Regions from separate parts of the Homo sapiens genome. Here all the other regions are linked to region 4. Evidence: promoter capture Hi-C in 16 types of primary human blood cells and fetal thymus (Javierre and others, 2016). All regions are on one chromosome and are shown on one strand. The core of a region is centred on a gene start or on the middle of the fragment in contact, and the rest is flanking DNA. Distances in the headings are between cores, read along the strand shown. Region 1 overlaps LOC105373734 (a long non-coding RNA gene). Region 2 has its middle 75 kb from the start of STK39. Region 3 has its middle 53 kb from the start of STK39. Region 4 holds the start of G6PC2 (glucose-6-phosphatase catalytic subunit 2).

Region 1 (3,247 bases), core at 576-3,075, 550 kb before region 4:
CCTCTAACTATGCTCCAATCTCAAGTAACTTTGCTCTTTCATCATAGAGGATGGAATATGATGTGAAGACATAAGGGGTTGCCCTAGTCATTTGCCATAGTCTTTTTCTGAGGTTACTTCTCTCTATAGAATAGAAAGTGCTGGCTCTATACTATTTTACACTGTTTTGAATTCGTTTCTTCCCTGTTGGCTTTACCTGAAGGTTGTGTGTGCCATGGGATCACTAACCTTAAGCTCAGCCTGGCTAGTGGGAACATTCACTGAAGACACAACATCAGGCTGTTTTTACCAGTTGATCACATTTATTTTTTGTCACAAACATCATTACATACTTCCCCCTAGAAGCCAAAGAAAAACATTATCATAACCAGAAATAATTAGAAAAAGCACAGAATAAAAGAGGCAGTTCTGGTTACAAAGACAACAACCAATGCCAACAAATATTGTCAATACCCCTTTCATCTCCCTGGCCTTGGTTATAAAAATATGATGGTACTATAAAGTGCTAAAAATCACTAATGACATTGGAAACTCTCATCTATTAAAGCAAATGCAAGATGGAATATACTTATTGTAGGAAATAAAGAGGTTTGTTAACAACAACAACAACAACAACAACTCATGACTTTGGGAACAGTCATGTGTTAAAGACGCGAATTCCAGGATCTCAGTCATTTCCTCTCAGTGAAACATTATCAGAGACAAACAGAAAATCAATAAAAGATTTAAGTCTCATAGAGTTTGTGTAAATATTGTAGAAATGACTTTCACAAGAGTGATAAGCACAGCCTTATCACATTTAATTCAGCTGAGAAGTCCAACTAAAACATAAAACTCTAATTACCCCCTCTGATGGCCAGCAGTTTTATAACAATGAAAGTAGCTGGATTTATACTGTATAAGCCAGCACTTGAGCACTCATCCATGCAGCCTTGCCACCTCAACAGGTTGCCAGCACCTGCCTTCCCACTCCTCTGATGCCAAGTAAAAGTGAAGTTTGCTTGTGACGCTCCGAGATTCCTGAATTCATCCCTATTCTCAAAGGAAACTTTTCAATCTCATTCAGACACTTCCCAGCTCTCAAAAAAGACAAGGAAACTAATTTCTACCAAAGTGTGAAACTAGTGATAGTTTAACATGCACCTCTTTATTTAACATGTACCTCCTTATTTTTCCTAGAAGAGTTGCAATTTAACAGGAATCAAAATTCTAACCTACAAGCAGAGCAGAACTGTGTTTATTGTGTGCTATCTTTTGGTTAAGGAACTATATAATTGTATTTGCTTATATTTTCAAAAATTAACAATGAAAGGATGAGACAAAATCTGACAAAAACAATTACCTCTTATATAGGGAGGGAGGAAATGGGGTAGAAAGCACATGAAAGCAATCCTTTTCTGGATTTACTTTGTTTTGTGCTTTTTACTTTAAAACAGAGGTGTGTGCTGGCCAGGCGCGGTGGCTCACGCCTGTAATCCCAGCACTTTGCGAGGCCGAGATGGGCGGATCACGAGGTCAGGAGATCGAGACCATCCTGGCTAACACGGTGAAACCCCATCTCTACTAAAAATACAAAAGAAATTAGCCGGGCATAGTGGCGGACGCCTGTCGTCCCAGCTGCTTGGAAGGCTGAGGCAGGAGAATGGTGTGAACCTGGGAGGCGGAGCTTGCAGCGAGGCCACTGCGCTCCAGCTTGGGCGACAGAGTGAGACTCCGTCTCAAAAAAAAAAAAAAAAAAAAAAAAAAACAACCACTTTGGGAATCATATGTAATAATTTAGAAAAAGAAGGCTACAACATGACCACATGCTATTTATCTGAGGAATCCAAGAATTTAACATTTGAAAATCAACTTAATGTAATTCACCATATAAACAGACCAAATAGGCACAGAAAAGCATTTGACAAAACATGACATCTGTTTCTCATTAAAAATCTCTCAGCAAATTTGGATAAGAAGGGAATGTCTTTAACCTGATAAAGGGAATCTATGAAATAAACTATAGCCATACATCATACTTAATGATGAAATACTGAATACTCTCCCACTAAGGTCAGGACCAAGACAAGAATGTCTGCTCTCACCACTTCTATTTAAGTGTGCTTGAGACTCTAGCTTGGGCAATAATGAAAAAAAAAAAAAAAGAAAAAAGAATAACAGATGTTCAGATTGGAAAGGAAGAAGTAAAACTCCCTTTATTCCCAGATAATGTGATAGCTTACATAGGAAATCTGAGCAAATCTTAAAAAGCTCCTAAAACTAATAAATGAGCAAGGTTGCTGGATACAGGATCAGCAAGCAAGAATCAGTTGCGTTTCTATGTACCTGCAACAAACTATCAGAAATTTAAATAAAACAATGCTGCTTACAGTAGCATAAAAATATGATACATAGATGTAAATTTGACAAGATATGTGCAAGACCTATATGCTGAAAGCTACAAAACATTGCCAAAATAAATTAAAGCAGATCTAAATAAATAAAGATATCATGGTATTGAAGACTTGATATTGCTAAGTTAAAATTATCCTCAAATTGGTCTATAGATTAAACACAATCTCAATCAAAATCTTGGCACACTTTTTTGGTACAAATTGACAAGCTGATTCTGACATTTATATGGCTATACCAAGGACCTAGACTAGTTAAAACAATTTTGAAAAGAAGGAAAAAGTTGAGAACACTAAAAATTACCTGATTTCAAAGTTTATAAAGCTACAGCAAGATACTGTGGTACTGGAGTCAAGTTAGACAAGTAGACCAAGGGAACAGAATAGAGTCCTGAAACAGACCCAAACATAAATGAAAACTTGGTTGTTGACAAAGTTTAAAGCCCAGTTCTTGGACAAAAATGTAGCCTTTCAACAAATGGTTCTGGAAAAAAGGGAATATCTATGTGCAAAATAAATGAACTTTGATCCACATGTTGTACCATATACAAAAATTAACTCAAAGTGAACAATAGACCTAAGTGTAAAATCCAAAAACTATAATACTTCTAGAAGAAAACATATGATAACATTTTTGCAGCCTTGGGTTAAGCAAAGATTTCTTGCACAAAATACCAAAAGCACATACTGGGTGAAAATATTTGCAAATCATGTATCTGATAAATAACTTTTATCAAAAATATCTAAAAACTCTCAAAATTCAACAATAGGAGAAAAAAACAAATGAAAAAGGAAGAAAATTTAAATAGACACTTCACCAAAGAAAGTATATTGGTAGCAAATAAGCACAGGAAAAG
Region 2 (3,006 bases), core at 304-2,803, 580 kb before region 4:
CCATGTGGAAGACAGAAGTTTATTATCCAAATCGGCTTCCCTGAAAATTCAGAGGCTAGGGTTTTTCAAGGATAGTTTGGTGGGTAGGGGTCTAGGGGGTAGGAAATGATGATTGGTTGGGTTGGGGATGGAATCATAGGAGGCTGAAGCTGTCTTCTTGTACTGAATCAATTCCTGGGTGGGATCAGAAGACCAAATAAGCCAGTTTCTTGGTATGGGTTACCAGTATGGGTGGCAAAAGCTGTTCCATCAGAATGCAGTGTCTGAAAAATACCTCAAACACCAATTTTAGGTTTTAAAATAGTGATGCTATCTACAGAAACAGTTGGGGAGGTTACAAATCTTGTGACCTCTGGCAACAATGGCTGATTATCCTTTAACTACACCCGTATTTTAGCAGAGTTCAGGCCATTCCCATAATCCTAGTCTTGTAGCCTTTCATTGGTTTTATAAAGGTGGTTTTGGTCCCCAAACAAGAAGGGGGCAGTTTTGGGAAGGGCTATTATCATCCTTGCTTTAAGGTTAAACTAAAAACTAAATCCCTCCCCAAGTTAGTTTGATCTACGCCCAGGAATGAATAAGAACAGCTTGGAGGTTAGAAGCAAGATGGGGTCGGCTATGTCAGATTTCTCTGTCACAATATTATGAAGGCGGTGACAATATGAAGAGGGTATTTAAGCCTCAATAATCTGGCCCTTCTCTGAGTCTCATATTTGCAAGGCTTCTGTGTCCATGTACATCCACAAATTTGTATTTAAAATTATGCTACACTTTTTTTTTCTTTGATGCATGACAGGAAGCTGTTTTCAGTAAATGAAACCCAAACTACTCAGTCCAGGTTTTTTTCCCATTAATCTGCCTATTTTGAGTTCATTTTCAGCAAACCTTCAGAAGGCAGAGGAGAAGCTTTCCCTTGATCCCTACATCTGCAGTAAACACCCATGGCCCCTCCTTTGTACAACTCCAAACTTGGCTTTGAATCAGACAGCTCCCCAGGCAGAATACTCTCCATCAACAGCAGAAAGAACTTCAAGAGAATATTGGAGGTGGGTGGGGAGGGTGAAAGGAGAGCCTTAAAGCGATATAAATGTAATTATGAAAATAGTTATATTAAAAAGATCAACAGAAACTAGTAAGTGGTCTGAATATTCTAGTGTACATTTCACACCGTTTTCTAGAAGCTAGAAATTAGTCTTCAGGGACATAAACCAGAGTAGTTTCCTAGAAGGTTCCAAATGATTATTGGCGGTTGTGATCACAGTCTGTAAACACTGGGAGATTGTCCTCCTCATGAGCATCTTGGCCTGAAGATTTGAAACATTTTCTTAGACTAAAAAGTTCCCTGCCCCCCACCTGCACTGACTAGTTGTGAATTTCATTTAGTGAACAGCTTTCTTTCATACATCAAAGAAAAACATGGTAGCATAATTTTAAATATGATTGCCTTTTCATTTAGCCTACATAGCTAAAAATAGCCAACTTTAAAAAACAAACATGTTTTTCCTATCACTGTTTTCAGCCTTCAAATTTGCAGCAACACTATAAACTCATCCCAAATGCAGAGATCTCAAAGAATTATGCCTTTTTAAAGGAATAATAATACCCACTTTCAATACTGAACATATTGGAAATCACATATAATGATTGATGGAGGAAAATTTGTGCTTGTAGCCTAAAGGGTAAAATTTTCCACAGTCTTCCCAATTCTACTGTTTCCATTCAAAGAAACTCACTGCAAACTGGTATATTCATTATTCTCTACTGAGTACACTTAGCCACCGATTACATGAAAATGTGTTATAAAAAATAATTGCTTTTCATCCTCATTAACCAACTATTAGGAAGAAGGATGGAAAATCATTCAGCATTTCATTAATTCTAAAACAGTATTTCTAATGAATCCTCTTATGGAGTTATGTGTAGAAAAGCATTTCCCTCCCTGTTTGCTAGTGAATTAGGCAACACTTGAACATAAAGATAGATATTCCCATTACGAACACATTACAGCATTCCCTATGGGATACGGAGACTCTTCAGCATCTCGGGGAAAAATGAAATCTCACTTTCCCACTGTTTGTTCTCACAGGCTTTGTAGCAAGTCTAACTGAACCTAGCCGACCCTCCTACACGAAATTTACTACTTATTCCTTTTTGAGTCATCGCAAGGAAGCTGCCCCATCGTTTTAGATTACGTGTGTCATAAAGCTTGAAAGGAAAAGGAAGTGCTCCCAGACATCTCCATAAACCCACAGGGAATGCGCCAAAGAACAAAAGGCTCGCACCTGTGTTTTAGTTCTCTCCTTTCCCTCTGGTGGATGCAGGGAAGGATCTGTCTTCTCCACCCTACTCCTCATCTGTTGCTACAGCTGAGCCTCACTCATTTCCTGAAATGAACATTCATCTGGGTGCTACCTAATTGACTTTCACACCGTTTCACACTATCCACCTTTGGTTCAGGGGTGGTAAATCACGGCTGCATTTCTGTCGGAAGTGTCTTGTTATCCTTATCGATAACTTGGGAGTATATTAAAAATATGGAGCTTCAGCAGGTCTGAAGGGACCAGGGCTATAGTTTGAGTTCCTCAGCTGCCTTTTAAATCCAGTAGCGGTAAATCAAATCTACTCAGATCAATAAAATTTAGTCGTTACCAGTTATGTGCAAGACACAGAGGAGTTAGTGCAGGATAAATGGCCAAATGGCTCATAGAAAAGGAACCATCCAGCTAGGCGCAGTAGCTTATGTCTATAATCCCAGCACTTTGGGAGGCTAAGGTGGGAGAATCGCTTGAACTCAGGAGTTTCAGACTAACATAGTAAGAGCCTGTCTCCACAAAAATAAAAAAAATAGCTGGGTGTGGTGGCACATGCCTGTAGTCCCAGCTACTTGGGAGGCTGAGGTGAGAGGATTGCTAAAGCCCAGGAAGTTGAGGCTGCAGTGAGTGTGTCCCTGCACCCCAGCCTGGCTGATAATGTGAAACCTTGTCTCAAAAAAAAAAAAAGGGTAGG
Region 3 (2,950 bases), core at 113-2,612, 600 kb before region 4:
GGAGGGTGCCTCTACGTGACAAATCTAGGTAATGTAGGATTTACCTTGCTTGTTTTCCTTCTTTCAGGGATACTGGTCCTGTGCTGCCTGCAGTCCGGTATCTGAAGACAGTTGTTTCAGATCCTTCCCCCAGTTTTCTAGTGTTTTACCACAGGAGAACTAGTCTAGTACCAACACTCTGTCATGGCAAACAGCATAAATTCTAAGGTTGTTAATTTTTAAAACAGAAATAATTTTTCCAAGAGATATCTTATAACTTAAAAGAGTATTTTAAAATGATTTTTAGATTACCGAAGGGATATTGAGGTAAACAAAAAATATATGTGAGAAATCTCCAAGGTATTTAAATGTGGCTACCTTCATGCAGGTCAATGAAAAACAAAACTTTAAGACCCGAGTAGTAATTATGAGCTCATATCAACATTTTTCATTTAGTGTCTTTACTTTTGTTTTTTTGTTTTTTTTTTTTTAGATGGAGTCTCTCTCTGTCACCCACGCGATCTCGGTTCACTGCCACCTTCACCTCTTGGGTTCAAGCAATTCTCCTGCCTCAGCCTCCTGAGTAGCTGAGATTACAGGCACCCACCACCATCCCCGGCTATTTTTTTTGTATTTTTAGTAGAGAGGGGGTTTCACCATGTTGGCCAGGCTGGTCTCAAAGTCCTGACCTCAGGTGATCCACTCACCTTGGCCTCCCAAAGTGCTGGGATTACAGGTGTGAGCCGCCACACCCAGCCTCTCTCTCCCATTTTTAGGTCTACCTTCATCCTCCAAAGATAAGTCATTCATTTGCAAAATATTTTTCTTCTAAAAAGAAATTATTCCTTGAAGGGGTTTATATTTGATTTAAGATAGTTATTTGGAAAATGTTTAAATACACAAAATATGTCTTTCAAAATTCTTTAAGTGGAAATTGTATTAGCTAGATAATTACATGAGTTCAAATAAATGTAAAATCTTTTCAGCTTCACTCTATCAATCTAATAATACTAGCAATAGTAATCACAATAATACCTAATATAGACTCTACCTGTGCCAGGGAGCCAAAATGCCTTACATATGTTAACTTGTTTAGTAAATGATATGGTTTGGCTCTGTGTCCCCACCCAAATCTCATCTCGAATTGTAATTCCCACTTGTAGAGGGAGGCACCTGGTGGGAAGCGATTGTACCATGGGGGCAATTTCTCCCATGCTGTTCTGATAGTAAGGGAGCTCTCAGGAGATCTGATGGTTTAAAAGTAGCAGATTCCCCTGTGCACTTCCGCTCTCCTGCCACTGTGTAAGACGTGCCTTGCTTCCCCTTTGCCTTGCACCATGAGTGTAAGTTTCCTGAGGCCTCCCCAGACATGTGGAACTGTGAGTCAATTAAACCTCCTTTCTTTATAAATTACCTAGTTTTAGGTTGTGTCTTGATTGCAGTGTGACAACAGACTAACACAATACGCCCATGAGGTAGATATTATAATTTATTCACTCCACAGATGAAGAAAGAGAGCTGCAGAAAGATTAGGTAATTTTCCCAAGGTCACACAGCTAGAATGACTCTAATGTATTCAGAATAAATTTTGAAGAAGGTGCCTCTGTCCTAGCCAAAAATAAGACTTTATTAGATGATGTAATCATTTAAATTTACAATCCTTTTTGATTGCTGGCTCAAGTCCCAAACTCATAATCATGCGTAAGGAAAATCTTGCCAGATTAAGTCAACTGAATCATTGCCTGCATTCATTGTATAAGACTCGTATCATAAATATCTTGTAACCAAGACCAGAATTTAGGAGGAAAGTGGCCATTCACATCCCTGGTGTTACTTGGATTGAAAAACTCTATGTCTCTTTTGCTAGCATCACAATAGTTTCACTTAAGACATCGTTCTTGTCTATTTAAATAAAACTAACATTCTGGGTTGTTTTGCTAAAAGAGATTTTATATTTTTTTTTTTACGGGGTTGAAGGTTGAGAGACTTGGAAAGTGACTATGTTTTGAACTCTTGGTGGGAGACAGAACTTTCTTTCAGCACATAAAATCAATCATAGAATTTGATGTATGTGGCCAGGCACGGTGGCTCACGCCTGTAATCCTAGCACTTTGGGAGGCCGAGGCAGGTGGATCACAAGGTCAGGAGTTCGACACCAGCCTGGCCAATATGGTCAAACCCTGTCTCTACTAAAAACACAAAAATTAGCCAGGGGTGGTGGGCACGCGCCTGTAGTCCCAGCTACTTGGGAGGCTGAGGCAGAATAATTGCTTGAACCTGGGAGGCAGAGATTGCAGTGAGCCGAGATCCTGCCACTGCACTCCAGCCTGGGTGACAGAGCAAGACTCTGTCTCAAAAAAAAAAAAAAAAAAAAGAATTTAATGTGTGTTAAAAGCCCTCAGAGGACAATTGCTCATTTTATGTGGTTGAGAATCTACTGATGAAGATAGAAAGTAGCAGCTAACAGAGGAGAAGAAAGTGTTCATTGAAACGCAGGCATGCTAGTTGCAGAAAAGGGTGACCCAGTGTACTCACACCTTCCCCACTTGGCGCAGCCTGAGTGGGTGAAATCCCTTAGGAGCCGAGCTGTGGTACATTAGCAAGATCTATGAATGAGTTCTTCCAGCAACAGCAGAGACACTACAGACCTGATTTGTCAGGAATACCTAAGGGCATCTCTGTAGCGGCCTGAAACCCAGGGGTATGTGTGGGGTAGTCAGCACTAATTCCTCAGGAATTCTCTTTCCTCTGAGTCCCTGGCTGGCATGGCTGAGAACATATATTGATTACATCAGAACTGAAATGCACTATTGCCTGAGCAACGTGGCCTGAAATGATGGTACAATTATATCTCCTCCGGGTGGGATGATACCCACTAAGCTTGTCTCTTTTAGAGCCTCTAAGCATTGAAAACAAATTGGTACCCTTTTTCCAACACATATGTCTAAAAATAAAAATGATATTCAGCCAG
Region 4 (2,791 bases), core at 211-2,710:
TATATGAATTGCCTTAGTGCAATGATTCTAAGCCCCTTATACCACATTGGAACCACTTGAGAAGTATTTTAATAATACCAATGCCCAAATTCCATTACCAGAAATATAACTGATCTCAGGTGGAACACAGTTATGGCAATTTAAAAAGCACCCCAAAAGATGTTAATGGTCAGTCAATGCATTTCTTCCAGGTAAGGTACCAATAGACACTGAAGCCCAGTAACAATGGTGCTGTTAAATGATGGGACACAAAACTCGAAGAGAAGTTCAAAGTGATAGTTATAGCCTGTGAAGGACTCTAGTGAAGTCTTTTGTCTTTACTTAGGCCATGGTAAGCAAAGACAAAAATCTGAATGACAAAATAACAAGTAAGGTTACCTAGATCCATCCCTGGCCACCTTGTGAGGCTTTGTTGCTTTCCCACTAATCCTAGACACAATCCAGCTCTCTAAACCCAACATCTCTCTGACTTAGATCCATAGCCTCTTTGTGCTACCCTTCTGTTCATTCTCAGTCTACCCTGGTCCATAGTCCAGGGTCCAGTCGTAGTCTATAGTCCAGGACCAGAGTCCTGGTCTATAGTCTAGTCATAGTCCACAGCCGTAGATTATGGACCTATGACTTAGATCCACAGCCTCTTTGCGCTACCCTTCTGTTCATTCTTAGCATTTGTTTGGTGCTTTCCACTTCTGTTTAACACTCTGTTCTCAACAAACCATTTTCCTGATTGGTCAAAAGCCCTTTGATGTCTATTCCTATCTTTGTCACATGAATCATTCCCTATTCCTCTCAACTGTATTCTCTAGTTAATAAAAGATACAATTTGATCCTAACACATTTCTATTATCCAAATGACTTTCATTTCTGCTTTCTTGTCTTATAGTCAAAAAACAACACATTTCTTTCCCTGTTCCATATATATTCTATCATTCTCTTGGATAAAGAAAATTGAACTATTCTTATTTTAAATCAGTGATCAGAACATAATCTGTCATATCATATATTTTTCATACCCAGATATTTATTCAACCATTTTCCTCAAAGACCCAATAAAATAGAGAGCCACAGCCTATCTTAAATTAAAATGCAGGGCTTTATGGGCTATTTGACATGCAATAATTATTTGCAAAGTCTTTTCACCAAACATAGAAATTGCTAATGTCTGACCTTGGAGGAAATGAACTGTACAAAAAATTTCAAGCAAACATGATCCAACTGTTCGCACAAAAGGGAGGTTGCATAAGAAATTCATTGTGTTTCTATCCAAATTTCCCCCTCGAATTGCCACAGATCAGCATGTACTTCACTCTTTGCCACCAATTAAAATCATAAATAGATGAGCTATTCAGCAGAGGAGGGCTGGTGTGCCCTCTCCACAGATGGTCAGCATCACATGTTGCAGTAATGGCTCGACATGCCACAAAGGCACAGTATAAAAACGGTGGGAATCAGAGCACTTCAGCTCCAATTGCTCTATGTTTAGAATTGCCTCTTTTTCAAGATGGATTTCCTTCACAGGAATGGAGTGCTCATAATTCAGCATTTGCAGAAGGACTACCGAGCTTACTACACTTTTCTAAATTTTATGTCCAATGTTGGAGACCCCAGGAATATCTTTTTCATTTATTTTCCACTTTGTTTTCAATTTAATCAGACAGTTGGAACCAAGATGATATGGGTAGCAGTCATTGGGGATTGGTTAAATCTTATATTTAAATGGTAAGATTTCTGTTTTATTTCATTTTTTCCTAAGATTTATCCTTAAATTTGTGACTTCGGCATAATGATCACATTTCAGATGTATATCGTTTTACTTGGAAAATCTTTCAAAAATACCAGGTAACTTGAAACACCAGATTCATAAGTAGAACTTTTAAAAGGCACAGAAATGTATATATATGTTTTTGTTTTTTTTTTTTTTTTGAGACAGAGTTTTGCCCTTGTTGCCCAGGATGGAGTGCAATGGCGTGATCTCGGCTCACTGCAACCTCTGCCTCCCAGGTTCAAGCAATTCTCTCACCTCAGCCTCCCGAGTAGCTGGGATTACAGGCATGTGCCACCACACCCAGCTAATTTTGTATTTTTAGTAGAGACAGGGTTTCTCTATGTTGGTCAGGCTGGTCTCTAACTCCCGACCTCAGGTGATCCACCGACTTCGGCTTCCTAAAGTGCTGGGATTACAGGTGTGAGCCACCACGCCAGGCCAGAAATGTGTACTTTAATGACTTATAAGTAATTCCCAAACCCCTGTAACACATATTCTGTGATTAAGAATTACTTACATGAGCAGCGTGATAATGAACAAATTGATAATTCTAGGGACAAATTTTGATATTTCCAGTCTAAGTATCCAAAGCACCCATAAGACATTCCCTGCAAGGGAAAAAAGCCCCCATGTTCATGGGAAACCAGGGTGCCAAAATACCAAATGGCTACCACCTTTAATAATGTGTGAGAGACCAAGACCTAAGTTTTTTCAAAGTCTCTTAATCATGAACTTTCACAATTAACCCTGCGCTTGAGTCATTTTTTATAGGAAAGAATTGCTAATCTCCAATTAAATAATAGCTGTGTATTTAAATATATATGCATGTTTATAATTCTTTAAATACAGGATATTATTTGGTCATCGACCTTACTGGTGGGTCCAAGAAACTCAGATTTACCCAAATCACTCAAGTCCATGCCTTGAACAGTTCCCTACTACATGTGAAACAGGTCCAGGTAAGCTATTACAGCAGGCTCCAGTTACTGAAGATCTTCCAATAGAGAATCATTACACAGGGTTATC

The links. The method cuts DNA at HindIII sites, captures the fragments that hold promoters and counts their contacts. A CHiCAGO score of 5 or more calls a contact.
Region 1: a fragment that was not itself captured here is called in contact with the fragment with the promoter of G6PC2 in region 4 in 3 of 17 cell types (erythroblasts, naive CD8 T cells and naive CD4 T cells); the score reaches 8.4 in erythroblasts.
Region 2: a fragment that was not itself captured here is called in contact with the fragment with the promoter of G6PC2 in region 4 in 4 of 17 cell types (neutrophils, naive CD8 T cells, fetal thymus and 1 more); the score reaches 5.6 in neutrophils.
Region 3: a contact is called between a fragment that was not itself captured here and the fragment with the promoter of G6PC2 in region 4, in 1 of 17 cell types (total CD8 T cells). The highest score is 5.8, in total CD8 T cells.

What each region holds. Positions count from the first base shown.
Region 1 is chr2:168,349,705-168,352,951 of GRCh38, forward strand. LOC105373734 (a long non-coding RNA gene) reads right to left here. Exons shown (of 6, transcript XR_923559.3): 3 at 229-338. Among named protein-coding and RNA genes, the nearest start is that of STK39, 100 kb to the left of the region's middle. The HindIII fragment of the contact is 9,034 bases long and covers 1-3,247 here.
Region 2 is chr2:168,321,557-168,324,562 of GRCh38, forward strand. No RefSeq gene overlaps it. Among named protein-coding and RNA genes, the nearest start is that of STK39, 75 kb to the left of the region's middle. The HindIII fragment of the contact is 1,299 bases long and covers 905-2,203 here.
Region 3 is chr2:168,298,992-168,301,941 of GRCh38, forward strand. No RefSeq gene overlaps it. Among named protein-coding and RNA genes, the nearest start is that of STK39, 53 kb to the left of the region's middle. The HindIII fragment of the contact is 2,990 bases long and covers 1-2,857 here.
Region 4 is chr2:168,899,831-168,902,621 of GRCh38, forward strand. G6PC2 (glucose-6-phosphatase catalytic subunit 2) reads left to right here and starts at 1,461. Exons shown (of 5, transcript NM_021176.3): 1 at 1,461-1,719; 2 at 2,615-2,724. The coding sequence starts at 1,502. The HindIII fragment of the contact is 12,445 bases long and covers 1-2,791 here.